5 separate regions of the Homo sapiens genome follow, and all the other regions are linked to region 4. Evidence: promoter capture Hi-C in human tissues and cell types (Jung and others, 2019). All regions are on one chromosome and are shown on one strand. The core of a region is centred on a gene start or on the middle of the fragment in contact, and the rest is flanking DNA. Distances in the headings are between cores, read along the strand shown.

Evidence for each region. Contacts are between HindIII fragments. The study calls those that stand out against the background at their distance.
Region 1: a contact is called between a fragment that was not itself captured here and the fragment with the promoter of PALMD in region 4, in 2 of the 25 tissues and cell types used here (liver and neural progenitor cells).
Region 2: a fragment that was not itself captured here is called in contact with the fragment with the promoter of PALMD in region 4 in 1 of the 25 tissues and cell types used here (heart right ventricle).
Region 3: a fragment that was not itself captured here is called in contact with the fragment with the promoter of PALMD in region 4 in 1 of the 25 tissues and cell types used here (IMR-90 fibroblasts).
Region 5: a contact is called between a fragment that was not itself captured here and the fragment with the promoter of PALMD in region 4, in 1 of the 25 tissues and cell types used here (aorta).

Annotation. Positions count from the first base shown.
Region 1 is chr1:99,490,432-99,496,471 of GRCh38, reverse strand. No RefSeq gene overlaps it. Among named protein-coding and RNA genes, the nearest start is that of LINC01708, 5.6 kb to the right of the region's middle. The HindIII fragment of the contact is 5,033 bases long and covers 1,214-6,040 here.
Region 2 is chr1:99,474,149-99,480,034 of GRCh38, reverse strand. All of the region lies in intron 2 of LINC01708 (long intergenic non-protein coding RNA 1708), which reads left to right. Among named protein-coding and RNA genes, the nearest start is that of LINC01708, 11 kb to the left of the region's middle. The HindIII fragment of the contact is 7,447 bases long and covers 334-5,886 here.
Region 3 is chr1:99,452,840-99,458,517 of GRCh38, reverse strand. No RefSeq gene overlaps it. Among named protein-coding and RNA genes, the nearest start is that of LINC01708, 32 kb to the left of the region's middle. The HindIII fragment of the contact is 5,453 bases long and covers 1,000-5,678 here.
Region 4 is chr1:99,641,608-99,647,554 of GRCh38, reverse strand. It overlaps PALMD (palmdelphin), which reads right to left and starts at 1,442. Exons shown (of 8, transcript NM_017734.5): 1 at 1,193-1,442. The coding sequence starts at 1,237. The HindIII fragment of the contact is 22,760 bases long and covers 1-5,947 here.
Region 5 is chr1:99,433,774-99,439,783 of GRCh38, reverse strand. It overlaps LOC107985093 (a long non-coding RNA gene), which reads left to right and starts at 2,494. Exons shown (of 3, transcript XR_001738163.2): 1 at 2,494-2,610. The HindIII fragment of the contact is 3,033 bases long and covers 1,756-4,788 here.

The DNA of each region.
Region 1 (6,040 bases), core at 2,481-4,980, 150 kb after region 4:
TAATAATCTACCATGACCTCCCTCGTGTCTATCTAGGGTGGGTAGGCTGTCAGCTGAGGGCTGGATGGCTTTTGGCTAGGATGCCTAAGTTCTTTTCCATGTGGTTTCTCATCCTTCAGCAGGTTAGCTTGGGCTAATTCACATGGTCGTCTCAGGATTTCAAGTGTGGTAAGAGTGAACAGTGTACGAGTACATTTCAAACCTTTGTGCTATATTTCTCAATGCCAGCCAGGGGCACTGAGTCACTGTGGCAAGGCACTGCCAAAGGGTGTCAGTAGAGAAATAGGAATGTTTTATGGCCATTTTTGTAGTCTATTATGCTAGGCCTTTGTAATAACCTAGCATTGTTGGTTTCCTTACCACCAGTCTTGCCCTGTCCAATCCATTTTTTCACACAGCAGTCAATGGATGGTCTATCATGTAACCACCCTATTTAAAACTTCACTGGCATATCACTGCTCTGAGAATAAAGTCCTAATCCTTTAATGTGATTAATATAAAACCCCAGGATTTGTATTCTGTCTACCTCTCTGGGCTTTGGCTCTCTCCCTGTTATGTTCTTAATTTCTCTTGGTTACTCAAATAGCTAGTTTAATTCTCACCAAGGCAGAAGGGAGCATACTGCAGTCAATTCTCATTGGTCTCCTTTTCTCTTTCTATCTGAAAAACTCTTCATTTTCCTATCTTTCTTCTTTCCTTTTTCCTAACTCACCTATTTATCCCTCAGTATCAGCTAAAACATCCTTTCCTCAGGCCTCCCTTAACTGAAGTATAAGTGAACCTTAGCATTTGTACTTCACTGTAATTACATGTTCAGAATCTGACTTTCCCATGAGACTAAAAGCTTTGTGAGATCAGGGACATTATCTGTTTCACCTAGTACTGAATCTCTGACATGTAACACAGTGGCTATTCTATAATAGGTACTTAATCAATGCTGGTTAAAAGAACAGGTACTCCTGGCTTGTCTGAGTTTTGAGCTTTTTTTACTATGGCACATTGCAATTTAGATTCAATTTGCTGATCTTGTTTCTTTTGCCCATATATTTAATTAATTTTATGTTCATGAGCTAAAAATGATTTTAGTAGTGCACATATATACATATAAATTCAAATCACTTTTCTTGTTCAGGGGTTAAATGTAAATGATATTTTATGTTAATGAACTTTTCCGGCAGTCTGAACTCCTTAGAAAAAAAAAAAGCAGATAATTTAGGATGAAAGGGTCTGGACTACACAAAAGGACACTCAGGCAATGTTTCAGCAGTTTGAGAGCAGTCCTACCCATGTTACTTTAGCTGTGGCCTGTTGCCACATGGAAATTTCCTGGTGGGCCACCATGATAAAGATTGGCTAAAGTCTACTCTGTGGAGGCAGGTTTACCCTGGAGGCCATTCTAAAAGTAATGGAAAACCTACTCAGGAAATGTAATTTCAAGGCCTATCTTCTTTGACTTGTGCAATTTTGAAAGTTCAGGCTGTGTCATGCACATTTTGTGTCAGATGAAGTTTTCACAGCAAAGCTCATAGTAGTTCTGATAACTGATACTATAAAGAAAAACCAGAAACACAATTTCCAGAAGCTTCTCTGGACACTAGAAAAGATTGTCAAATCAAATAGTTCTTCTCAAATCAAAATGATCGTTATTGCCCTTGAAGACTAAATGATGTATTATTTGAATAAATCTAATGAGTTAGGAACCTATACAGTGGCTTATACCCCTCTTCCCATACCCTTTACCTTCTGGGATTTCTCAGTTTTCCCATCTATGAAATGGAGATGTTCATAATGTTATATTTTATAAGTCTAAACAACATAATCTTATACTTCATAAAATTGCTATAGAGCTAGGATGAGCTAATAGGTTTGAAATAACTTTGTATACTATAAAATGCTATTAATTCATCAAATATTTATTAAGTACCATATATACCAGACCTTGTGCTAGACCCAAGGGAGGGATATAAAAAAAATTCTTGCTCTGTGATTGAGCTCACAACCGAGGGAAGTGACAGATGAAGGTAAAATCATAATATAGGATAAACAAAACTGCAGCATCACAGATGGTGTATCAGTTAATTCTGTCTAGCGGGTTCACAGAAGAGAAGATATTTAATGTGGGCTTGGAATGATAGGTAATATTTCACCAGAGGGAGAAGGCACAAGGGGCATTCCAGTCAGATATCTACTTATAGTCCATGTCAAGAGAGTCACTCCATTTTTGAAGAAATGATAAGTGGAAGGAAGATACCCAGAAAGCATATAAAGGTGATGTAATTGTTTCTTTTCTTTCTTCTACTTCTTTTTTTTTTCTTGGATTGAGAGAAGGCAAACTAAATTCATAAAACAAAGCAGCATCAAAGACAACTGAATCAGGACAAGAAATGGTGAAAGTGTAGCAGGGAAAACAATCTGTTACTTTATACATACCCTAACAAATGCATGAAAGTTTGAAACCTCAATGAAACCTCAAGGAAACCCCATGAATGAAAATAGGATGCTCCTCTTTCAACGATCAAGCAAGTGAACATATCAATTTGGAGATTACAAAACAATGAAAAGTGACTAACAGTATGTTTGTCAAAGATACATTCAAATGCATTTTACAAAACAACTTCAACAATAGTTCATGAACTAAGCAGGACAACGGGAGAATAAGCTGAGTTCTAGTCAGAATTATTACCAATACTTTGTGTCATAGGTGTCAGGGCCTGTTACTCCTTTATACCCCCTCCACTCTTTTGCTGAGTGAATATTCTGATTTTATTTTTGAGATAGAAATCTGTGCAAGAAAAAGTAGCAAAGCATTTTAAGGGTAAATGATTCAAAATCTCAGGCGGCAACATATGTGTGTATATGTGTATATACACACATACAAACTCATTTCTCACATTTGGAACTATTAAGTTAAAGATCAGACATATAATTTACATTACTGTTGAAGGTGAAAGGGGGTGCTATTTATAATTTTCACTGGGGAAACAGGTACAAACCTGGACTGTCCCAGGCAGAATTAGATGTATGGTGACCCTAGTTATAGGAACCACACAGACTTTGTTAAACAGGACAAAGCCAATGTTCTTTGTGCTCCTCTAAGGAGCTCCTGGAGCTTTTGGTCTTGACATATCAGAAATTTTGGTATAGGCATAATTTATAATGTAAGTGCTGAGTAGGGACCAGTATAATATTGTAGTTAAGAGCATTACTAGTTTCAAATCCTGGCTAATTAATTGTGTGACGTTGGGCAAGATACATCTATATGAGCAGCTACTCTGTGCCTTAGCTTCTTCATTTGTAAATTGAGAACAATAATTGGTTATAGTGAGAATTAAATGAGTTAATATATGGAAATTTCTTGTAGCAAGGTCTGGCTCACAGCATTATATATTATTATATATTGTCATTTTGTGTAATTATCCCCATTTTATAGATTTCAGAAGACACACACACAACCAAATGAAACAAATAAATTATATTTCAGGGTTTATCTGATGTCTTTTAGGTTCACTTTAGAATATTCAAGAAGATATCCAGGCATTAGCCTGAGCTGGAAACTTGGGTCTCCCACAGAAAGAACTATCTTCCCGGTTTTCTCTGGAAATGAGTGGAGGGAATGAAAAGGTACTATTAGCCCTTATTTTATTGGTTTGGTTTCAAGTCTCTGAGATGTCCAATGTTGATCAGACTTATGGTGGAGGTGCTACTCATATAGATGCATTTTCAAGGCAAGTGAGGTTTAAAAAATACTAAAAACATCTGGAACAACCACAGTGGGGTCCATATTTTTATGTTTACATTTAAATCTCCCATGCCCGGCTAAAACTTCTTCATCATTGTAAATAATAAAAATTACAGCTAACATTCTTGAACACTTACTAGGTGCCAGGCCCACCCCTAAGTGTTCATATGTGTTAACTCCTTTAATCCTTACAACACGTACTTGAGGTAAGTACTATTGTTATTACCATTTTGCAAATGAAGATACTGAGGGACAGAGAGTTTGAGGATTTATTTATCTCTGCATTTTGCCAGTGCCATACATACCAGGCACCTAATATTTACTGGATCAAATTTTGCATGCAGATTTATTAATATTTCCTAGCAGAGCTCATTTGCGTGGTTGATTTTTTTTTTCAGTAAAAAGAACTTTTGAGAATCTGTTTAGAGGAAAAACATTTACAGCTGCCTTGTTACCCTTGCCTATATTTGTCTGTGGTATTTTGATTTCTGCAAGACCATAAGAGTTAGTAATCACAAATAACATTTCAAATAACCTTTTAAGTACCATTTTAGGTAAGGATAGAAATATTAAATGAGATTTTCAGTTCTGGAAATCAGTCTGACAAACGAATATAGATTGCTTTTAATAAATCATTTATATTTGGCTTAAAAAGCATTATGGTGGATTTTTTTCTCTAATGATTTGATTCCTAATTATGTTTACCTCAGGACAATATCATAATTGCTTGTATTTTCCAAGCATACACCAGCTGATGAGAAGGGAGGAGGGACATTATTGGACAGTTCTGTAAATGCCAGTAGGCCAGTTTGGGGTTAATGGTGAATCTCTGACTCCTCCACGGAGTGGAAAATCTCTGCGGGAACATCCTTCAGTGGATTGCATGCCAGTGGTAAAATGCGTGAAGCACAGAGAGGAAGCCGAGCAGCGAAAGAGGCAGCAGGAAAGACATAAACAGCAGAGAACATGGGGAAGATAACACAGAGTAGCCATTAGAGGCGATTGGTCAGGGAGGCCAAATGAAGTTGGTAGTAAATTTTTATCCTCCTCAATAGGCTATTTTGCAATGGTACTTTGTATATTAAATGATTTGCTGAAAAAGCAGATACCACATTTTAATGTTCTGTGTCAGTTATAGAAAACTATAACAGGGGAAAAATAGTGTTCCCAAGGATAAGGTAATATCATTGTTTGTTTATTTGCTATATTTTAAATTTTAAAGGGCCAGACTCATGAAATGAATTACGGTTAGATTAAATGCTTTTCTAAATGCCAAAGTGATAATGGTCTATTTCTATTTCTTCCTCAGTTTGATAACAGAAATCTGAACATGACTATAATCTCATCAGACTTGTTTCTTTAATAAAAGATGTTACCCACAAGGATTCATTCATGCAACAAACACTTATTGAGCAGTAATCGTGGACATGTAAACAGTCTAGGAGAGAGAAACACTAAAAAACAATTATACAGATCACCCTAAAATTACAGTCATTTCAAATGCCACAAAGAAAAAGAAGAATTAGGATGTTTCTCAGAACGTGGTATAGAAGGACCTGATCTAGACAGGTGTGTGTTGGGAGAGGAAGGAGGGTAGAGAGAAAGTCTCCCTGAGTAAGTTATACTTAAGGAGACGAAGAATAGTGAGGAATTGGCAGAGTGAAGGCAGTGACGGGAAGAGTCAGGTGCACATGATTGATCTTACTCTATTCTTTATAGTAACTGGGTTTGTGTCTATGAAGTTAGTACAAAAGAAGCTTAGTTAACTATGTGTGGTGTGGCCAGGTGGAAGAATGCAATGGCAATATGAAAACATTACAAAATGACAATAGAGTACTGGATTGACACAATGTTTGTCTTCTAAAATACCCTCTTGTATCCTGGCAAGCAAAGACATGTGGTAGAATTATAGAAATAGAGGTGGATAGTTTGCCTACTTTTTGTCTTTGAAGTTGCCAGAAGAGGGATGAAGAGTCTGTGAATTCTGAAGAGGCAGAAGATAGCAATGAGGTAATGCTGATTGCTCTCCTTATGGTAGTGCAGTTACCACAAGCTAATGTGGACTTCTTGCTGGACAGACAGGGTAATCTATAAAACGCCTTCTAAGGATGCGGGTATAAAAAACTCAGATGGCAGACATATAAAAACCCACCTCTAAAGACATTCTGAGGGGAATTCAGTGCTGCTTTCAGAGCAAGGGTTTTACATCTACGTAATTTAAAACTACGTGTTATGGATAATTTTAGATATTTATTTTTATTTCAATATGAGGAAGAGGAAACTCAAATGACTTTTTCTGTG
Region 2 (5,886 bases), core at 2,808-5,307, 170 kb after region 4:
CACCATAGAAGAAGGGTCATGTTTATTTTGTTTATCGCCATATCCCCAGTATTTAGCCAAGGGTCTGGTATATATCAGGTACTCAATAATATTTGCTGATTGAATGAACTAATAGTGAATAATGGCAAATATTATATTTCATGCCACACCATCTTCTCCATTAAATGGGGTAGATTTGCACTCTAAGCTGGCGACTGCTCTGGAGAAAGGGTTCCCAGATAAGTAAAAGGGAAAGATTTTTTGAAGGTCAGTACATGACCTTTTGGAGGTACAACAGAAAGATACCAGCAGTAAAAGTTGGGAAACCTGTGAGTGCTTTGTCTACTCTGCTGCACTTCAAAGTATCAAAGAATCATATAATTTAAATAGTTTGGAACAAAGAGAGATTTATTCTGAGTCAATATGGATTCTATTAAATTGGACCTAAAGTATCAGACATTGGCACTATTCTGAGACCCAATCTTTGGGAAGATTTAGTTCACTCTTAAATTTTTGACGGGAAATATTTGAAAATCTTCCAAGGATATTGAATGTGATTTACATTTCTAAAGGTCGGTTAAGTCCCAGGTTAATTCCTCTTATACACTGGTTTCCTAAACTGAGAATAGAAGACTGAAAACTGAAAATTTTATTATTCATATGACCACAGGAAGTATGAACAATTTTTAGTTTAAAAACGTGAGTTGTAGAAGCAGATGGCCTCTGGACCATCTGTCTCATTTTAAAAAATTCAACTTTTATTTTAGATACAGGGGGTACATGTGCAGGTTTGTTATGTTGGTTTATTGCACTCAAGTAGTGAGCATAGTACCCAATAGGTAGTTTTTCAACCCATGCCTCCCTCTGTCTCTCCCCTCTTTAGTAGTCTATAGTGTTTGTTATTCCCATGTTTATGTTCATGTGTGCTCAATGTTTAGCTCCCACTTGTACGTGAGAACATGTAGTATTTGGTTTTCCGTTCCTGCATTAGTTCGCTTAGGATTATGGCCTTTAGCTCCATCCATGGTGCTGCAGAGGAAATGATTTCATTCCTTTTTATGGCTGCATAATATTCCATGGTGTACATGTACCACATTTTCTTTATCCAATCCACCATTGTTGGACACCTAGGTTGATTCTATGTCTTTGCTATTATAAATAGTGCATTGATGAACATAAGAGTGCATGTGTCTTTTTGGCATAATGATCTATTTTCCTTTGGGTATATCTCAGTAATGAGATTGCTGGGTCGAATGGTAGCTCTGTTTTAAGTTCTTTGAGAAATCTCTAAACTGCTTTCCACAATGGCTGAACTAATTTACAATCCCACCAATGGTATAAACATTCCCTTTTCTCTACAAGCTCACTAGCATCTGTTGTTTTTTGACTTCTTGATAATAGACATTTCGACTGGTATGAGATGGTAGCTCATTGTGGTTTTGATTTACACTTCTCTGGCGATTAGTGAGAATGAGCATTTTTTCATACGTTTGTTGGCCACTTGTATATCTTCTTTTGAGTAGTGTCTGTTCATGTCCTTCACTCATTTTTGAAAAATGGGGTTATTTGTTTTTTGTTTAAGTTCCTATAGATTCTGGATCTTAGACTGTTGTTAGATGCATAGTTTGCAAATATTTTCTCCCATTCTGTAGGTTGTCTGTTTACTCTATTGATAGTTTATTTTGCTGTTCAGAATCTCTTAAGTTTAATTGGATTCCACTTGTCAATTTTTGTTTTTATTGCTATTGCTTTTGGTAACTTAGCCAAAAATTATTTGCCAAGACTGATGTTCAGAAGGGTATTTCCTAGGTTTTCTTCTAGGATTTTTATAGTTTGGTGTCTTACACTTAAAACTTTAACCATCTGTAGTTAATTTTTGTATATAGTAAAAGTTAAATGTCCAGTTTCATTCTTCTACATATGACTAGCCAGTTATTTCATCACTATTGAATAATGAGGACTTTTCCCATTGCTTGTTTTTGTTTGCCTTATTAAAGATCAGATGGTTGTAAGTGTATGGCTTTATTTCTAAGTTTTCTATTGTGTTCCACTGGTTTATGTGTCTGTTTTTGTACCAATACCATGCTATTCTGGTTATTATATCATTATAGTGTAGTTTGAAGTCAAGTAGTGTGATGTCTCTGGCTTTGTACATTTTGCTTAGGATTGCTTTGGCTATTGGGGCTTTTTTTTTTGGTTCCATATAGATTTTAGAATAGTTTTTTCTAATTCTATCAGGAATGACATTGGTAATTTGATAAGAATAGTGTTAAATCACTAAATCTCTCTCCAGTGTTGTTTTGTGCAGTATTACCATTTTAATGACATTGATGAGCATGGAATGCTTTTCCATTTATTTGTATCATCTCTGATTTCTTTCAGCAGTGTTTTGTAGTTCTCCTTATAGAGATCTTTCACTTCCTTGGTTAGCTGTATTCCTAGGTATTTCATTTTCTTTGTGGTTATTGTAAATGTGATCATGTTTTTGATTTGACTTTGAACCTGGACATTATTGGTGTATAGATATGTTACATAGATTTTGTACTCTGAAATTGTACTAAAATAATTTACCAGTTCATGTAGCCTTTTGGCAGAATCTTTGGGGTTTTCTAGATATAGAATAATACCATCAATGAAGAGAGATAGTTGACTTTTTCTTTTCCTATTGAATGCCTTTTATTTCTTTCTCTTGCCGATTGCTCTGGCTAGAACTTCCTGTCTCATTTGTTGATACATTAAGGAAAATGTAACTAAATGTTCAGAGAAAAGTAATAGCGTATATTAGCAAATTCCTTAGATTTTGTCTCTTCCAGAGCTGTCAAACAGAACTTTTGCCATGATGACAATATTCTGTATTTGTTTTATCCAATATAATAGCCACTGGCCACACATGGCCACAGGGCACTTGAAATGTGGCTAGTACAATGGAGGAACTGAATTTTTAAATATTACTTAAAATAAATAATTAAAATTTATATTTAAATAGCCACATGTGTCTAGTGGCTACTGTATTAGAGTGCACATCTAGAAGAATATATACTTAATTAAAACTAAAATAATTTTAGAAGTAAAATTAAAAAAAATTAGAATTATAATTTTTGAGATGAGCCATTGATAATGTCAACAAGTAAGACATCAGACTGAAAACAGAAAAAGAAACTGAAGAATTGTAGTATGGGAATTTTAAAAAGCAGCAAGCTTAGCACTTACCATGTGTTAGACCCTATGCTAGACCCATTCACATTTATCATCTCAGTGAATGCTCATAACAACTCTGCAAGTAAATATTTTATCTCCACTTTATAGGCAAGAAGTCAGATATTACAATTTCCTCAGTGAAAAAACTTAAACCCATCTGGTTTCAAAATCCAGACTGTAAAATTTGAGTGAGCAGAAGAAAAATATCCAGATACAATTATGAATGTGCATCTTATGAAGTGAGGTCAGGCCTGGAATGAGTGTCACATCCAAATATTGCTCACGAATTTCTTAAAGTCCTCATTGCTGAGTCTAGGCTTGGTTTCTGATGATGTAACAGTCCTGAAGCTAAAGGTGGGGTCAGGTGGTCCAAATTGGGTAGAAGAAGGTGAGGCTGGGGACCAGCCAACTGAAAGAGAGCACTGATGTTCTGGGTGACCATCGCTCTTGTAGAACATTGCCTCTCAGGTACCTGAGCAACAATTGCTAGCCTTGCTGTTTCCATTAGAGGTGCTGACTTATGACAGCATTCTCAGCTATAATTTTATGGTTGAGTACTTTGACGTTATTTTTCTCTCCAATAATGCTCTGTGACCTGATTTTCTCCTCATTTGTCAGATAGCTTATGTGATGTGGCTTTCACTTGGTAACTGCAATTCAGGGGCATTTCCCTGCAATAATGTGTCAAGAAACAGCTTCTATAACACCAGAAATCATGCTTCCTTATGTTGAGGAGAGTGGAGATGTGCCTCCGTGTGTTGACTGTGTCATTCAATCTAATGCTTCTGGATGCATATGTCTCGCTGAGCACCTAAATAACTTGTATTCTATATCCTTAGAATAAAAGGATATCAGCATTTTTTCCTGCTGGTCTTTGGAGTTTGTGCCGCAAAAGAATGATACTTCGCTACCTCAACTATTAAATGAAGGAGTCTGCTTAAAGAAGGCTGAATATCTTGGTTTAAGAACTTAGCTTTCCCAATGATTGAAATGAATTAGATAGGAATGATGGCCTGGGTATCTATCTTGGGCAAGTCTTGTGTCTTGCTATCCTGGGATTCTTTTACAACTAGAAATACAACACCAGAATTCTTTGATAAAGATTCAAATTCTGAGATGAAGCAACCTGATCCAGGCAGTTTAGGAATGGGGCTAAGGCTCATTTAAAATGGGGCCATGAGCGGTCAGAAGTATCTGTGAAAGCCAAATATGAGTCTGTTGCAAGATGGAGAATACTTTAACAGATTAACGGTCCATGGAATTAGTGGTCTAGGAGGCAGCATCCTAGCCAGGAATAGGATATGAAAAGGATTTCTGAAGTGCAGATAAAATGGTCCCTCAATCTTCAGGGCCAAAGCAGGAGGGGAGCTGGAGAAGGAACACAGAATCAGAAACAAGATTGTTACAAGGTGGTTAGGGAGCAAATTGCTTCAATTGCAGCCCGCTTACATTTGAGCAAATGTGCTTCCTGGAGCCAGGGGCTTGTTCTTAAAAGAGCCAGTTCCATAGGACAGGTAACTTGCTGAAGTCCAGATCGACTTCAGCGCCGGGAGGTATAAATACATTTTGCAAAATCCAAATATTCAAGTTGAAAGAGAGCCCAGTTCCTAGGAAGCGGTGTTTTTTATTTGATATTCTTAAGTATCAACCATATATTAGACAATATGTAGCCTTAGAGAGTCGCATGAAATTTCTGTAAGCACAGCACAATTGCTGGATGTCTCCTGCAAAAATAAGAAGAAATCCAGCCGAAAACCTTTTTCTCTTCCTCTTTCCCCTTTATAAAGAAGGCTAATAGATCTCTCATTTTTCAAAATGTACCTCAGCTTTGGAATGGAGAAGTGGAAATGTTTTTTCTATTCGAAAGGAAGGTTATCTAAACACTGTAGTGTGTGATTCTATTAGAGCTTGCTTGATTTAAACTCTGAGTGTACCTAAAACTCTCAATTCTACTTCACATGTGGTAAAAGGTCAAATACAGTCTTGTTCTACCTTGCAATCAATCATTTACACTCCCTGTCCACCTTATAGGGGAAGACAGACTATTATTAGCCTGTGGAAAAGGCATACTGGGATTCATGTCATATGGAGAGAATATTTATTTTTCTCTTATTTTGCCAAGCCGATGGTGGTGGTGTCTGCAGTACACAGCTGACATGGAGCTAAAGCTAGATGTGGTCATATGATAGGCAGGACAAAAAGCAGAAAGGCTGCTCTTCTGCTGGCCATAAATATCAGGTCAGATTTCTCTTTCTCCTTCTCTATAAAATTCTCTATTCATTTATGCAGGCCTGTCAACACATGCAAAGACATGTAAAACACATTAATAGGATTGTGAGTTAATTCAAATCCAGTCATTCTTTCAATATACATATATGTTGGGCACATTATATGAGCTAGTTCTGCCCACATGAATTGTCTCTAGACATTCATTTGTTTTTTTTTTCCTGCTGTATTTTTCTGTTCCTTCTTAGTTTAAGCAGATAACTTTTGTTTTTTGCTTCAAAGACGTTTGCAGAATGGAAAGTAGAAACTTTTTGAAAGCAACCTTTCTGCTTTTCCAAAAGACTGTACTCACTGCAAATGGAGAAGCAAGAATAGGAGTGTCATCTTCAGGGTCACCAAGGAAGGTTGGAGAGGCTTCAGACTGGGGTGGGGGCAGAGGCTGCTGGGCCCACAAGTAGAATAGCCCTGCCCTGTTTCCTTGGC
Region 3 (5,678 bases), core at 2,477-4,976, 190 kb after region 4:
CTGGGTGGTGACTGTGTTTCTTAGCCTTTTTACTTCCCTTAGGTGAGACAGTAATGCCAGAGGGGGCTGGAGTAGGAGAAATGCCTTGCTGCAAATGGGCAAATATATTTGTAAATAAATAAATAGCTATTATTTGAAACATGTTAAATTCTTACTAAAGATGAATAAATTCCCTAGCCAATACTGAACTATTTGAAGCTCCTCAACTGTTGTTGGCCCCTGTTTTTCAACCTTTTCCCTGTTCTTAATAAAGGACAGAAGGGAGAGGGCAAATTTTGGCACTACTCAGGGTTTGTTTGGTTTGGTGTTGACTCCTCTTCCTTGGTTGAGAAGTTCTGGTACAATAAAAAGATCAAGAGAATGCTTTGTGTAGGTCCTAATATTATCCTAGATTAAATCTGAAGATAGGATATGTCAACTGATATGCCCCAAACCACATGGTTAATCTATGATGTCGTGAACTCCAATCCAAGTTTTACAATTCCAGATGGGACGATCAGCCATCTTGGCTTGCAGGGGACTGAGGGTTTTCCTGGGACATAGCTAATCAAACCAGGAAGGCCCCAGGCAAAACAGGAAATGCCAGTCACCCTCATGGGGAATTAAAAACCCTTACTTAAAACCAATTTAAAAAGATAATATAAGATGATTAATTTTCCCCTTTGCACTTATTATTTGTGTGCTGATAATAAAACTTGCTTAGAGCATTCCTATAGATGTAACATGGCAGATTACAGGAGGAACAGTTTGCTGGCAAACAGTTTATACATTACTTCATTACTCATATCAGCGTCATCTGAGATTTCTATCTGTCTGACTAAACTAAATAATAAAACAGACAGAAGCTTCTCTTTTCATGGGAACTGCATAAGTGCTAAGCCTATCTGCCTACTGGCAACCTACGCTTGGGTGGGAGTTTGATGGCAGCTCTGAGTAAATCTTTCTCTACTTGAGATTTTAGCACCAGAATCAGGAGTGGGAGGAAACAGGATGGGGCTGAAGGGAAAGATCTTTGCATAGCCAGACTTGGGAACAGCTCATCCTGTCTCTACTGTAACCTCCACTGCAACTGGATTGTGTTTTCCTGAATGTAGTAATGGATTGAGGTCACTGACATGTTCTAGCACCAAAGACTACTTAATCATCAAAAAGCTTATATTCCCAGGCACCTCAAGAGGGGTCTGGGAGTGGTATTAAGGGTAGAGCTTCTGGCTATCCTAAGCTGGTTATGTGAGCCAGGTGCTCTGATATGGGACACCATCATCACCACAATTGTGGACCTGTGTGCCCCAGTTCTTACAACTGGGATTAAAGCCTCAATCCCACTACCCCAGTTACAGTTATTGTAATCACCTTGTCTCTTATTTTCCTCCAACCTGGGACTGAGGCATAGTGTTTTTCCAGGCAGTTCCCTCTTCAAAGGACAAAAATCTTGCCAGCGACCCCCACAAAATTGCTTAGGACCCTGTGTACAAGGACTGATACTACCTATCACTTGTAGACTGCCGCTTGAAATTCACCATCTCTTTGAGACCTCGTGGTCACAGACAATCTGCTTTAAATCTAGTTGGAGATGAGTCTATCTCGTAGGCACTATTTTGTATCCAGCCTGCTGAAATTGCAATGTTTTTTTGAAACTTCCCTCCCACTCTCCTGGTCAGAAGGTCCGGTTTGTGTCAGGCTAAATCCGGATGGGTGCTATATGGGTGAATGCACTGTCTGGGAAACTAGAGCACGGAAGAATGAAGTGGTGTCCTGGAATGTTGTCAAAGGTTGGTTACTTGGGCATCAATCCAAGGGCTTTAATGGAGAATCAGACCCAACAGATGGAAGCAAAATGGGAGCCAGGGAATCAGGGAATGGTGGTAATAGGACTAGTGGAACTGCCAAATGAGAGACAACTAGGAGGAATTGTGGAAGGGTTGGTGAGCAGACGGGCACTGCAGATTTATCCTGGGATGGCTCAGACTCATGAGGCATGTGGAATTTAGTTAAAGGGGATGTAATGAAATGACCACTGACCTGACCTAATAGGCATATCTATTGCCATATCCTGCACTTTTGTGGCAAATAGTCCTACTGTGAGGGAAGAGCAACATCTCCCCAGTAATTATAAAATTGTGATTCAAATATTCTCTTTGTAACCTGCCAATACTCTGATATTTGTTTCATCTAAATAGAGTTCTGTTATTGACCTTTACCTATGCTTATTTCAAATCTTTAGGGAATACCTATTTAGATGAATTTTTCCTCTAAGGCTAGATTCTGAGTAATTACTTAATGATCATGCAACTAACATGAGAAATACTCTAAAATAATAATTCTCATGTTAGAAAAAAAGAAATCGAGACTGCCTTAGGCAAGAACCCCTAATATTTCATGGTTTTACTTTCTGATGTTATGAATAACCATGGAAATTTTTGCTTGAATATTTTCCATGTTTGGAAAAGGAGTTTCCAACTTCTTAGGAGGTAAAGTAGCACCTCTGCTTCATAGCCATTAGACTTTGGGGGAGGTATTTGTTGATAAGAAAATTTTTTACTGAAAGATCATATATCTTGTGGCAACCTCTGTTCAGCTGGAAATATTACAAGGGTGTGTCCCTGGGGTGTGTGTTTGTGGGGGAGAAAGTTTGGCTGAAGGCTTTTCCCCAGCGAGCCATCATTTCAGGGACTAATCTCTACCACTTCGGAGAGAATATTCTGCTTATGTGGTCCCTGTTATTTTGAAAAAATGCCTCCGGGAGTCTCTGCTGCACCAGAGGAAGGAAGCTCTGATACGACACCTTCATTTATTGTTTCGAACTTTGCTAAAAAGTACCAAAGCACGGCTGGGCGCGTTGGCTCACGCCTGTAACCCCAGCACTTTGGTAGGCTGAGGCGGGCAGATCACGAGGTCAGGAGTTTGAGATCAGCCTGGCTAACATGGTGAAACCTGGTCTCTGCTAAAGATAACAAAAAATTAGCTGAGTGTGGTGGTGCGTGCCTGTAATCCCAGCTACTCAGGAGGCTGAGGCAGGAGAATTGCTTGAACCCAGGAGGCAGAGGTTGCAGTGAGTCGAGATTACGCCACTGCACTCCAGCCTGGGTGACAGGGCGAGACTCTGTCCCAAACAAACAACAAAAACAACAACAACAACAACAACAACAAAAATTACCAAAGCACAGCTTTTCAAAGCTCTCTCATTCAGGAACCCATTTCATTGAAATTAAAAAATGTTCTGAGATGCAGTTAATGTGTGTTTGCCCTTGTAGGACCAACATAAATCTAAGTCTTTTATGTGAAGAGATTCAGGTCCTTATAACTCACTTGGGGAATATGACAAATGGGATGGTGTGTGTGAATGTTGTTTTGATGGCTTAAGGGTGATGATCATATCTGGACACTTCTGAGAACTGTTGTTATGGCTCAATACCTTGCCTCCCTTCCTGTCATTTTTATCTATTTTTATAAACAAATAAAATAATTATTAAGAAAAAGGAACTTAATGAAACCTTTCGTCTTAAAATACATTATCCCATAACTAAGAGTTAATAGAATGAATCTAATCAGTCAGTTTGAAAGAGAGCTAACATCCCCTATAAAGATTATGCTATTGGACACTTACATGGTGTTTACTTTGAGACTGGTGCTGGTTTGAGCACTTTACATATGTTTACTCATCTAATTTTTATAACAGTCATTGAAGTAGTTGCTCTTATTATTCTAATTTCACAGATGAGGGAACTGAGGCTTGGAGGAGTTAAGCAAGGTTGGTGGTTGCACACACACAGCTGACACCAACTCACGGAGTCTTACTCTATAACCCTTTTAGGCAGTGTTAGAGGAACAAAATTGTTATTTGATCACAATGAGCTCAGGCCTTGATACAGTTTTCTGGTTTGTGTAAATCAACTCTGCATTTTCTCTGCACATTTAAAGTCAGACGATCAACCTTGGACAGGTTGTCTGTTAAAAGCCACACCAATGGGAATCATTAAAACAAATGACATTTAGGAGGATTACATTTACTGACTAAATATGCTTGGGCCTTAATAGCGCCAGTTTTGTTTAGTTCCCATCAACTTCTTGATCACGTGGATGTGCTTTTGTCAACCATTTTTGCACTTATTTTCCTCAGTGACTCTGATGACCTCTTCTCTTCGTTAATCAGCTTCTCATATTCTCATGACCTTACCAGAGTGCTGATGCTTGCAGCTGCAATAACAGAATGTGCTTCTAAATTATAATTCTCCCAACCCTGGACTCTGAATCTTCTCTTTTTCCTGTCAACAGTTGGTCCCCTCTACAAAGGCCCTGCTGTTTATTCTTCACTGGCACATGCCCTCTGCCACCTGAAATCTGTTGCTGGCCTTCTCACACTCTCTTTTCTTCTTTTAACTTCAAGGTCTTTCTAATTTGTCCTTTCTGCCTGTCCTTTGTTATTACTTATCACATCTCTCCTGGTCACCTTCACCCCTTCTTTGTTTGGGCCTCCTTCTTTATTTCTGGGTATCTCTTTCTTTCTATCAGACTCTGACCTTCTTCATGTATTATATTTAAGAACTAATCTTCCACCTTTTCTTTTGTTAAAGTAATTCTTAACCTTTTTTTAAAATCCCATTCACTAAAATAAGCTCATGAGTATTAATGTTTACATTAGGCCTTCCCTTCTCTGTCCCTTCTCTTCAAAATACCCAGCCTACTTAGAAGGGAGACATTTCCAATATAATAAAAACAATAGCTAACATTATCTGTGCCAGATGTAGAAGTCCACAATAGTCTTTACGACTTTGTCACAAGCATCATTATTATCTTCACATTACAGATGAGAAAGCTGAGGACCAGAGAGGGAAAGTAACTTCCTCAAGTCACACAAGATAGTTAAGTGGTGGAGCTAGGTTCTGAATGTGGATATGGTGATTCCAAAGTCTGTGATCTTAACCCCTGCACTTTACTGCTCTTTAAAGAGAGTAATCTGACTACATAGCCTCTGTCATTTCATTGCAATAAATATTTGAGTCTCTGCATCACTTAAGTAGATTGATCAGTATTGCCAAGTATGGAATTCTCTGCTTCTAAAAAATGAAGAGGCCTCTCAGCCAGTTTAGTTTATGATAGTTTATGTGCAATATAGTAACTTGTCCTTTATTTTGAAGGAAATGTCCCAATGTGCCTGAGACCAGTGAACTCCAAAGAACTTCATGGGTATAGCAGGCTCTAATATCCTTATAATGTTTATTTCCCTCACTCTGGGGAGTATGTTTCTTATTAAGACATCTAGAGTACTTGCCACTTTTTACTCATTGGGTCCAATTTACATGATGTCATCAATAGAGTATATTCATGTGATTTTCTGCAGAGTGTACAGATTGTTCATGCCCCTTCATATTGTGATAGAGGACATAGTTCTGCCTCAATAACGTTAATATTTACTTTATTTACTTGTCCACATCAAGTGAATGCAAAGTGCTTCTGATCTCCTTTCCTAATGGATATTGACTAGAACACATTTACTAAATCAATAGGCACGTGTGACATCCCTGGGACTTCATTCACATGCTTTAGTAAAAACACCAGATCTGGTACAGAAGCTGTAACTGGGACTAGTGCTGGTTATGTTTGTGTTAGTCCACTGTCATCTATCAGGATCCACCTGGTTTTTCCAAAAGCCAAACTAATGAATTAAATGTGTATAA
Region 4 (5,947 bases), core at 193-2,692:
GAGAGGAAAATGTAATAATTAGAAGCTAGACATTTAACAAAGCATTGTTTTATGGAAAAGTGCCAACCTTATCAATAGACTTCTGGTGTCTTACTATTGGCTAAGAAGACATTTCAATTTACTGAATGTTTCCTGGGTGAAACTAAGATATTGTATCAATTAGTAAAAAATCTAAATTAGGATTAGCATAATTAGTTATGCAATGAAAATTTTAAGAACAACAACAAAAAATCCCTGATCTAGCATCAGTTTTTAAAAAGTACTCATTTTTTTCCTATACCTAATGTCAGTGGCAGAAAATGCTGAGAAATTGGGATATTGCTTTCCAAAGATCTTTTTCTTCTTAAAACAATTACATCAAAAGTTATAGCTAGGGATAAATGATTGTGACACAGATTTCCAAGTTACTGCCAAATACAGGGTTTTATAAAATTAAAAAGAAAGCTGGATCATTTAAGAAAAGTAATTTATTTCTGGCTTTGACTTTTTCCCGGAACAAACATAAAAAATGTACGATTTTCCTTCTCGGTATTAACAAAATATTTTCCAAATCCACTGCATGCACTGCATTCCTTTATCAGGATCTTATTCAGTTTGTGACTCTGCTGGAAACTGATATCTTAGAATTAATCTGATACGTGCTTTTACCTAGTTTTCTCTTGTTTAATGCTTAAATTACGTATATTAACATTCATTTTAATTATTTTAGGCTTTCTGGAACATGCTACCACACTACAAATATAAAGTTTCAGGTCATTTTTAAAATTTCTTTTTCTCTCTTTAAAAAAAATTCTAACTTTTTGAGGCATTCATAGCTTAAAAAAGTTTCCAAGTTGGGGATCTGTTTTTTTATCTAATGCCAGTCAAATGGACATTTAAGGAAAAACTGCATTTCTAAGGTACACCACAGAGTGTGAAAGATAGTTAATCAGACTGCCTTAACAGCTTTTGATTGTTGTTTAAAATGCAGGCACAGCCTTTTTGAAAATCAAGAACGTTTGCCCTGCACTCAGGTTCTGAAGCCCCAGAGTTACAGAGGGTCATGAGGGTTAAGAGAGAAACAGAGACTCGTCCATGAAGGCTGACAGTTCTGTTTTTCCACTTGCGAGGGCTCAGCGACAGGGGCAGCCGGCCACGGTCTGCCTTCCTCTAAGTAACAACGTTAATGAGTTATAACTGTATGCAGACTTACTGTGATGGCCTGGAGTCTTCCCTTCACCAGCTCAGCTTCTTCCATTCTAGAAGTCAAGGACAGTCAGACGGGGAAGCAAGTCCAAAGCTACCATAAATCAAGGAGCCTCCTGGGGGAGAGGAGCGGGGGTGACAGAAGAGAAGCAGGGAGAAATCCGCTCTTTGCACCAGTGGAGAAATAGAGAAATTCCCGACTTGTCAGGAGCGTCTCCGAGCAGATGCACAGATCAGGCCAGACAGACACATGTAATGAGGGTGTGCTGGGGAGGCAGACGCTGAGGCTGCTGGCATGAGTTGACTGACAAGTTTGAACGGCAGCGGCACAAGCCCTTTTCCTTCAGGAGCTGCCAGCTCTTTGTTGTAATGTGCACAGTTAGCAAGGCACATTTTCTTATTAACTGTTCCTTACCCAATTCATTATTTTCCAGGAGTGGCACAGAGAGCCAACACACTGAGTGTTTAATCAGCCTCTGCTCTAGCAACACACAGCCATCCCCGGATGTGTTGGTCTGTGTGTGTTTGTACAAAGCTCGTTTACCTGCTTGCTAGCTCTAGGGGAGAGAGCCTTACCTTGACTGAGGCAGAAGTGCCAAGTCACTTGTTTGCCTTTCTTCCACTGATTGGATTTGATAATAATACAACAATCTATAGCTACTTTAAACTTCATGTAGTGGTAAATTTACATTGGTTCGTTCTCCCCCGTCTACACCCCACCCCCGACCCCCCTGCTCAGCACTTTGTTGCAAACTTTGGAATCTTTAGGTCATGGAGAAATCAAAGGTGTTAATGTGACTATATTAAGAAGTTGGCCCACCAAGGTATTTAGTGTGGCTTAAGCACCAAGTGCCACCTTTTGTTATTGCTTGACTTGGATTTCTATGGAATGCAGTTTTCTTTCTTGGACGCTGTTCAGAAATGACACTCTTGGCTTTCAGGAAGGTGCCCATTTTGACCTCACCGGTTACGCAAGAGAGAGGAGTGAGCCTTTGAAAATGTGATGAGACATTTGGTAACTGCCTGGAGCCCGGCACTGTGTGAATATTCGCCCATCCTTTAGAAAAAGGCAGGCAAGCCCAGTGAGACTCTTAGGTCAAAGCAGAGGCTGGGAAGCTGTACAATTGGCTCTGTCTGTTTTCTTTTCCCTACAGGTTCTTTAATTAAATTTTGCTGAAGTAAATCCTAATTACCAACTACCTTATTATTATGTGTTTGAATGCTATTAAGCGCTTTCATATCAACATTCAGCTGAAGAGGTTAAAAGGACAACCCAAACATTGAACATATGGTTTAATTTCCTTTGCAGTTTTGATATTAGTAATAATAATAGCTAATATTTGTTGCATTCTTTCTACAGGTAAATGCATACTTGCAAAGTGCTGAGAGATAAGTGCTATAATCCCTACTTTAAAAATGAGGGAACAGGCTCAGAGAGGTAATTTGCCATATAGCTAGTAAGTAGCAAAGCCAGGATTGGAACACCAGCTGCCTGACTTTATAAGTGGCATTCATCAAGGACTGCCCAAGGACACGGGGCAAGGAGAGGCACAGGCTGAAGGTTAAGTCAGTCTTTATGAGAAGTGGTTGGACCCCCAGCCTCCTTCTCTGTCTAGCTCCTAGAACACTACAGCTGGGTGTAACAGCCTAAGGCAGAACGGTGTGGGAATGTCCTCTGGAGAAACTTATTGGCCCTACTGAGGTTTCCCCACATTGTTGACTGGAGTTCCCCAACCACAGAGCCCTCATTCTGTCAGTCACTATAAGGTGAAACCCATGTTTTAAGAGTCTGAAATTATACTTGAGAGTAGTTTGTCCTTGCTCATACACCCTCAGAAGGGATACTTAGGGAGACCAGAGAATGGGAGGATTGTTTGGATGTGTGCCAAGTTTGATTACTGTTGGAAACATATTTAAGTGTAAAAAAAATCAAACCTTCAAGACTTCTGATTATGTTTATTTGTAGATCCTGGCTGAAATTAAAGACAAGAAAGCAGTAATGATAAATATCTCAGTCAGAATTGCATATTTGGTGCCTAGAACAAATGGGCAGTCATCCAATTATTAGTCTGGATCTTTTCCTAAAAACAATTTACCTCTCAAATCTCATTTCTGCTAGAGGAAAACCCAAGATTTTGCTAGTGTAGGGGAGGACAAGATTTAAAAAAAGAGGATGGGAATTTAGGAGGGAGCAGAGTTGCAACAACTGATTGGTATCATCATGTGAGTGGTAGGCAGAAAAGGCTGGAGCTGGGAAAATCTGGGGGACCTGAGTGGAATCCTGGAGCCAGAGCTCTGATGGTCTTGACAATCTCCCTTGGACTGCAATACAGATTAGGATGTTTCCACTCAACTTCGCCTCCCTTTCTCTTTCACCTGCCTCTTAGACATGTCCAGCTCCAGCCTTTTCTGCCTGTCCTCCCATGTTCTCTCATACAGTCATTTCTCCTAATAAAATTCTGTACATTTAACCCATCTTGGCATTTGTTTCTTATAGGATCCAGAATAACATCATCATTTCCACATCTACTGTATTTTGTTTACTTAATCTTTTATTGTCTACCAGAATGTAAGTTCCAGGAGAGGAGAAATTTTGTTCAGACACCTAACACAGTGCCTGACACATCAGAGGTTCTCAATAAATATGTGCAGAATGAATAACAAATGCTTAAAAAATTAACAAGTATTAGTATTGTCAACTAAATGAATGAATAAACACATGATGAGACACATCAGTTGTCAGCAACCAAAGTAGTCCAGTGTTTCTCAGGAATTTTAGCATTCTTGCCATGCTCAGTCACTGGCTGGGAGTAGCCCCTGGGAAGCATAGCCTTGAAGCAAACATAGGAATGGATTTCAGAGTGAAACAGCTTGGGACTCTTGGGTCAATTATGCTCCTGGAGTTCAATGTCTGAGAGGCACTTTCTCATCAGCCATAGTGATAAATGCTATGGAAAGAAAATAGAGCAGGGAGGAGAATAAAGATGGCTAAGGCAGGGAATGTTGCAATTTAGAATTGGGTCACTAAGGTAGCCTCAGTGAGAAGGCAATATTTGAGCAAGGTCTTGAAGAAGAGGTGAGAGTTCGTGATGAGGATATTTATGGGAAAAGCATATCAGGAAGGGCCTGTGCAAATGTCCTGTGGTGGGCCATACCTGCCATGTTTTATGAACAAGGCTAGTGTGGTTAGAGAGCTGGGACTAAGAGAGGGTTAACAGGAAATTTGGTTGGAAATGTAACAGGTCCCAATTCATGCAGGGTCCAGTAGGCCATTGTAAGGACTTTAGCTTTTAGTCTGTGTGGGATGAGAAGGCATTGAGGTGTTTTAAGCAGAGGAGTGTTTTGCAAGTGTGAAACAGGAAGACTAGATAGGATGTTATTACAGTAATCCAGATGAGAGATGATGGTGGCTTGTGTCAAGGTGGTAACAATGAGAGTGTTACCACCTTGGTTGTACCATGGTTGTACCATGGATAACTTTTGATTCTGTTGGTGGATTGGATATAGGGGTTTAAGAGAAAGAGAGGATTCATAATCACTCTTTGCCTGAGTGAATAGAAGTCGCCATCAATTGAGATAGTGAGGTTGATGAACTAGGTTTTTTTTTTTTTTTTCTTTTGAGGGAGAGGATGGATACCAAGTTTTGGAAAAGTCAATTGGTTCTCCACATGGAGATGTTGAGTAGGCAATTGGATATACGAATTTGGAGTTCAGGAAAGAAGTCTCAGGTGGATTTATAAAATTTATTGTAACTACGGAAGGATCACAAAACATCCAGAATTATAGTTCAAAAAGCAGTATATGTTAGCGAACTAGCTTCCATTAAATATTAACCTTATATTAATGACCAAATTCAGCCTTTGTAAAATAGATATATAATAGAGCACTATCTGCTGTCATTTATCTTATTGAACTACTTTTACCAAGTATTTTTGTTGTTTTCCAGCCAGTGTAAACGAGGATGGCAAGAGTTAAAAGTTACAGTCAATTAGTTGACATTATATTAGGAGGTAGGGATATAAGCGATTATGAGACAGTGCTCCTTCTTACAATGAATTTACTGTCTGGCTGGAGAGATAAGACGCGTGCTCAAAACAATTAGAAGACAAAAGAATAGTAAACCAACCGTTGTTGTATTCCGATGAAACAAAGTGCTAACTATTGCACAATTTGAGCCCAGAAAAGTATATCATAGTGAATGATAGTAGTGTGTGGGATTAGCAGTGAGTGCAACATGAATTGAAAATTGAGGTTAATGTGAGTTGCAGGAAAGCGACTGCAGGGAGAAAGTAGACTTTAGAAGCAGAGAAGCCATTTCTAAGCATGAGAGGGGGTGAAACAATGTGTTAGAGGTCCATAAGGGAGAGTGTCCTGTCTGGAGCAGAAAGGAGAAATTAGAGAGATTGATAGAGATATACATTTATACATAGAACTTGATGTTCAGGGAAAGTGGGAGAGAAAAGATCAGATTCATATTTTAGGGAAATAAAACTGCCAACTGTCTCAGAACATATAGAAGGAGGGAAAATTCAGGTAAAGAGATCCATCAGGAAGGGTGACTATGAAAGAGTCTGTAGAAAGAGCCTGTAGAAGGAAACTAAAAAATTGCTGATGTTCCACAAAAGGAAAGGTCCCCAGTGTTCTTCCTCACCTTCAGAAGGTCTGAACTCAGAGACCACAAACTGGATGAACATGAAGGACAAAGTAAGTAGAGGAGAAGTGTTTAAGGTGCTAATACAAATGTGTTAGAATCCAAGGGGGA
Region 5 (6,010 bases), core at 2,023-4,522, 210 kb after region 4:
AGCAACTGAATTTAGCCATTTACTTGAATGAGCTTGGGAAGTCTATTCTTCCCCAGAGCCTCCAGATAAGAGCTCAGCCTAGCCAACCCCTTGATTTAGGCCCTGTGAGACCCTCATTGGTGACCTCAGCTAAGACTGTGAAGACTTCTGACCTATAGTACTGTGAGCTCACAATGATTTAATCTCAGAAAGAAGTGAGGGACATATTATTAGAAACTGGAGGAAAGAGGATCCTTGTTAAGCAGAGGCAGGGAGTTTAGCAGAATTGATTCTTGCAGCTATGTGGAAAGCAGAACTTGTAAACAACAAGCTTGGATATTTAACAAAGATTTCCAAATATTGAAGATGTGGCCTAGTTTTTTCTTATAGCTTATAGTAAAATAAGAGAAGTGAGATATAATTTGAGAAAAGAATTACACAAAAGAGAACCAGAACTTGATGATTTGGAATATTCTTAATCTATCCAGGTGGTGAAAGAGGCTAAAATTCACAAATGACTGCCAAAAGCATGACATAGAGAAAAGGCTGAGAGTGTGGCTATACAACTTCTTGTGGAAATCTTTGAAAGATCAAAGATTATTCAGTTGCACGAGATTAAGGGTGCAGCTCACAGATTTCAAGTTTAAGAGTCTTGAATGGTGTGATCCCTTGGCCATCTCAGCAGAAGCCAAATATAGAGAAGGGATTAGCTCAGAAAGATCTGTTGGTGAGACTTTAGTCTAATGGAGTGAACCCTCATGAAATTCATGCAAAATCCACAAGATTCTAGAGAAAATGATGTTGGCAGACACACTGCAAGCTAGACTGAAAGGAACAGAAAGTGTATAAAATAAAAGATGACTGTCAAGCCCCATAAACCTACTTATCTGCAAACACAAGCTACATTTCATGCATAAAGGAAAGATGAATCAGAGGGTGGAACCAAGAGCTAGGAGAGCAGAGCCTGGAGCCCACAGGCTGGGGATGGGGACTCAGTGTGAAGCCCGCAGCCCGGAGGACAGAGCTAAGAGACATAGGGGATTATTCAAGGCCTTCAATCTGGTAGCCACTGCCTGGATGCTGGTTTTTAAACCTGTTTCGCACTCATGACTTCTTTTTATTTTCCATTTCTTCCTATATATTCATCTGTCAAACATTACCAGTCTCAATTACTGTAGCTTATGGTCAATCTTGATATCTGGTAGATTGTCAGTCCTCCAACTTTGTTCTTCCTTCTATAGAATTGTCTAAGCTGTTCTCAGTCTTTTGCATTTCTGTTTAAATTTTAGAATTAGTTTGTCAATTTCCATGAAAAAAATTGCAAGATTTTGATTGGGATTTCATTGAATTTATGTGTATAGTTGAGGAGAAGTGACACCTTAACAATACTGAATCTTCCAATCCATAAACTTGGTATATTTCCTGATATATTCAGATTTTCTTTAACTTTCCTCAGTGAGGTTTGTAGCTTTCAGTTTAGAGTTCTTGTATAGATTTTGCTCAATTGATCTCTAAATATTTAAAGGTTTTGATGCTACTGAAAATAATGTTGTTTTTAAAAATTTTAGTTTCTAATTGTTCATTGCTAGTATATAGAAATTAATTTTTAAATGTTGATTTTGTGACTTGTGAAAGTTATTTAGTAATTATAATAATTTGTTGGAGACCCTTTGGATTTTTAGTGTACAAAATATCTGTAAATAATAATAGATTTTCTTCTTCCTTTTCAATTATTATTTGTTTATTTCTTTTTATTGCCTTAGTAGTTTGGCTAGGATTTCTGGTAGAATGTTATATAGTAATGGTGAGAATGGACATCTTTATAGATGGAAAGCATTTATATTTCAACATAGTACAATGTTAAATGTACATATATATTATATACACATATGTTATAGATTATTTATCATTGACATTCTTACCAAATTTAGAAAGTTTCTTTCTATTTGTAGTTTGTTCAGAGAATTTTATTATGAGTGGGGTTTATTTATCAAGTATATTCTCTGTATCTATTAAGTTGATTATATGCTTTTTCCTCCTTATTCTATTAAATTTAATATAAATAATGTCAACAAAAATCCTTTGCTTTTAAAATGTTAATCCAGTCTTGAATCCTTGGAATAAACTCCATCTATTGTTATGGATTGTGTTATTCAAAGAACTTGTCCATTTTCATAAAATTATTGAATTTATTGACAAATTTCTTCATAATATCCCCTTATCAGCTTTTTAATGTCTGTGGGATCTATAGCCAAGTCCCTATTTTCATTTCTGCTATTAGAAATTATATTTTCTCTCTTTTTTCTTTGACCAATCTTGCCAGGGTTTATTAGGTTTTTCAAGAAACTCATCTTTGGCGTTGCTTTTTTTTCCTTTTATATGTTAATTCTCTATTTTATTTATTTTGGCTCTTATGATATTATTTCTTTTCATTTAATATTCTGTTCTTTTATTAGCTTATTGTGAAGAATACTTAGTTCATTAATTTTAATACTTTTTTTGTTTTGAGATGGAGTCACGCTCTGTGGCTCAAACTGGAGTGCAATGGTGTGATCTTGGCTCACTGCAACCTCCGCCTTCTGGGTTCAAGTGATTCTCTTCCCTCAGCCTCCCGAGTAGCTGGTATTTCAGGTACATGCCACCACACCCGGCTAATTTTTAATACTTTTATTTTTTTCTATTCATTTAGCCTATAAACATCTTTTCAAGTATAACTTTAGCTGCATTTTACAATAGTATTTTAATTTGCATTTAGTTCAAAATAGTTTCTACTTTCTATTTTAATATTTCTTTGATTGTGAGTTATGTAGAAATATATTGCTTGATATCCAAAAACACGGTTTAGTTGTCACTTTGAAACTCTCTAATTTTATTTATGCTCTGTTATATTTTTGACAACTGTTTCAATATTTGTTACATAAATATCTTAAATATTATACTATTGACAAAAAGAATCAGCACTCAAAGTCATTAGTCTATATTTTGTTCATGATGCGTTCATTCCACATTTATTGAGCATGTGCTAGATACAAGTACTGTGCATGCTAGTGACTACGTGAGGGATTCAAAGGAAATGTATGGACCCTGCCCTTGCCCTAGAGGAACTCACAACCTACTGAAGTGACAATCCCAGGAAAGGCAGTGTTCATTGGTTCTCGTTAGCTTTGTTCTTTTCCACTATAGCCACCAAATTAAAACGTTAATGATAAAACCTCACAAGCTTTGAGTGAAGTGAAAATTCTCATGTACAACTAAATGTTGAGTGCCTTATGGTTGGTCTATAATTCTCACAGATAATACCGTAGAAGGGATAAGCTTAAACGTGCAAGAATTTTTTTTTCTGTAACTGAAACTTATTTGTATTTGAAGCCCCCATTTAGCTGCAGTGACAAAAATCTTATCAATGGGAGGCCTCTCCATCAGAAAGTCAGAAACACTGACTGAAGCAGAGTCATCAGTGGGCTGCAGATTCTCCAAGGCTCCTCTGCACAGCCTCTGCCCTGGAAGTAGTGGGAGGGCATTCCCAAACAGTCTCTCCTTCCCCTGGAGTGGGGAAGGAGGGTACATGAGTCTCATTCTAATTCCTCCTCTCTTAGTCTTGATTTTGTTTTTCTTTTTTGCCTTAGATGACGACACTCCTTCTAGCCCAGGATTTTTGCTTCAGAGGCACCTGCCACAACTCATTTTTGCAGATGAAGAGTTTGAGGCTTCAGGTTAGGTGACTGGTTTTTGAAAACCACAGGGAGAAGGAGCACAGCAAGAACGTGGCCCATAGTAAATGTCTAACAAACATTTAGCTGTCAGTCCCAGTGCTCCCCAGCTGGTGTTATTTTTCTTATGTGAGCAGGTTAATTCAGAGTATTATTTCAGGGAACAAATACTTGAATACCTGTATGTCCAAGGTGCCAGGGTTACAGGGAATTAGCTAGATAAAGTCTCTGGCCTTACTGGGCTTCCATTACATAGAAGGGCAAGTAAGAGACAATAGATTAAAAAAAAAAAAAAAGAAAGAAAAGAGAAAAACAAGGTAATTTCAACCACAACTGGTGCCATATTTAAGGTAACCTATGTCATCCTCCATGCCAGAACACTTTCCCTCTAGGGTGCCCCAGGACTCTCTTTGGCCTCTGCCATTGGACATCACAGGAAGCAACTATGGTAGCTGGCTCTTCCCTCTCTTCTTGCAAAACCTGACATGCCATTTATTTCTTTGTCTGACATACCTTTCTTTTCTCTTGTCCTGGAACCATTTACCAGGCACAGGCTCCAGCACCCCACCCAGCAGCCTCTAATTACTTTCTGTTATCAATTTCCTACTTGATTTCTGATGTTGAAAGAACATACTATATAATTTTCATTTTTAGAAATGTGGTTTGTTTTATGGCCAGCATATGGCTTATTTTGGTAAATATTCCTTGTAAACTTGAGAAGAATGTGTATTTTGAAGTAGTTAGGTATTTTTTATGTATAATGTATAACAGTGAGGGTGCTTTTGTACTTAGTGGTGTTCAAATATTTGCAAATACCTCCACTGATTATTTTTCTTCTATCATTTTCTTTTTTTTTTTTTTTTTTGAGATGGAGTCTCACTCTGTCGCCCAGGCTGGAGTGCAGTAGCGCAATCTTGGCTCACTGCAACCTCTGTCTCCTAGGTTCAAGTGATTCTCCTGCCTCAGTCTCCTGGGTAGCTGTTATTACAGGCGCGTGCCGCCAAGCTCAGCTAATTTTTGAATTTTTAATAGAGATGAGATTTCACCATGTTGGCCAGGCTGGTCTTGAACTCCTGACCTCAAGTGATCCACCCACCTCGGCCTCCCAAAGTGCTGCAATTACAGGCATGAGCCACCACCCTTGGCCTCCTCTATCATTTTCTAAGTTGAGTTAAATCCAAATATTTTCTTGGATTTTCATATTTCTCCTCTTAGTTTTTCCAATTTTGGCTCTATTTTTAGTGCATGTTATTAAGAGCATACACACATAGAACTGCCATACCTTTCTGTTGAATTATTAGTCTACTGTATCTGGTATCAGTTTGCTATATCACATTTCTTTTACTGAGTTTTATGTGAAGTGTGTGTGTGTATAATATTCTTTTAATGTTTCCTGTGTCCTCATTTTAAAAGCGTGTCTCTTGTAAGATAACCAAACTATAGATATACACACACACACACACACACACACACACACACACGATTTTCTTGGTATTTTTTCCACTTAATAAATAAAAGGAAAAGTTTCTTGAGGAAGGCACTCTACTGAATTTTTTTTTTTTTGAGATGGAATGTTGCTCTGTCGCCCAGGCTGGAGTGCAGTGGCACAATCTTGGCTCACTACAAGCTCCATCTCCCGGGTTCATGCCATTCTCCTGCCTCAGCCTCCCAAGTAGCTGGGACTACAGGTGCCAGCCACCATGCCCAGCTAATTTTTTGTATTTTTAGTAGAGACGAGGTTTCACTGTGTTAGCCAGGATGGTCTCGATCTCCTGACCTCGTGATCCGCCTGCCTCGGCCTCCCAAAGTGCTGGGATTACGCGTGTGAGCCACCACTCCCGGCCCACTCTACTGATTTTTAAAATAATCCATGTGGCTTCCTATCACCTACTTAACTGCCCTGTACTCTTAGCCACCATGCTGACCCTGCCAGTTTGGGAAGTGTAGGTGGGACAGGAAGGGCTGGGGAAGAATCTGAAGATGGAAATGGAAAAAAAGATAACAGGTGAAGAGAGGATGGAAGGAAAGGGTGCCATTAGGTTTTTAAAAGAATTTTTACCTCTACACTCTCTCCTGTCCTTTTGCAACTTCAGTTACATGTATTTGGCCTTTTTGTGAATTCTTTACATTTCTTACCCTCTCCATTATTTTTCCATCTTTTTTGTTTCACACTCCCTCTCGGTTTGTTCTTCTGAACTGTTTTGTAGTTCACTAATTTTCTCTTCTGTTATGTGTAATTTATTATTAAGCCCATTCATTGGATTCTTAATTTTATTACTGTATTTCCAGTTTTCTCCAAAGCCATATCATCTTCCAAAGTA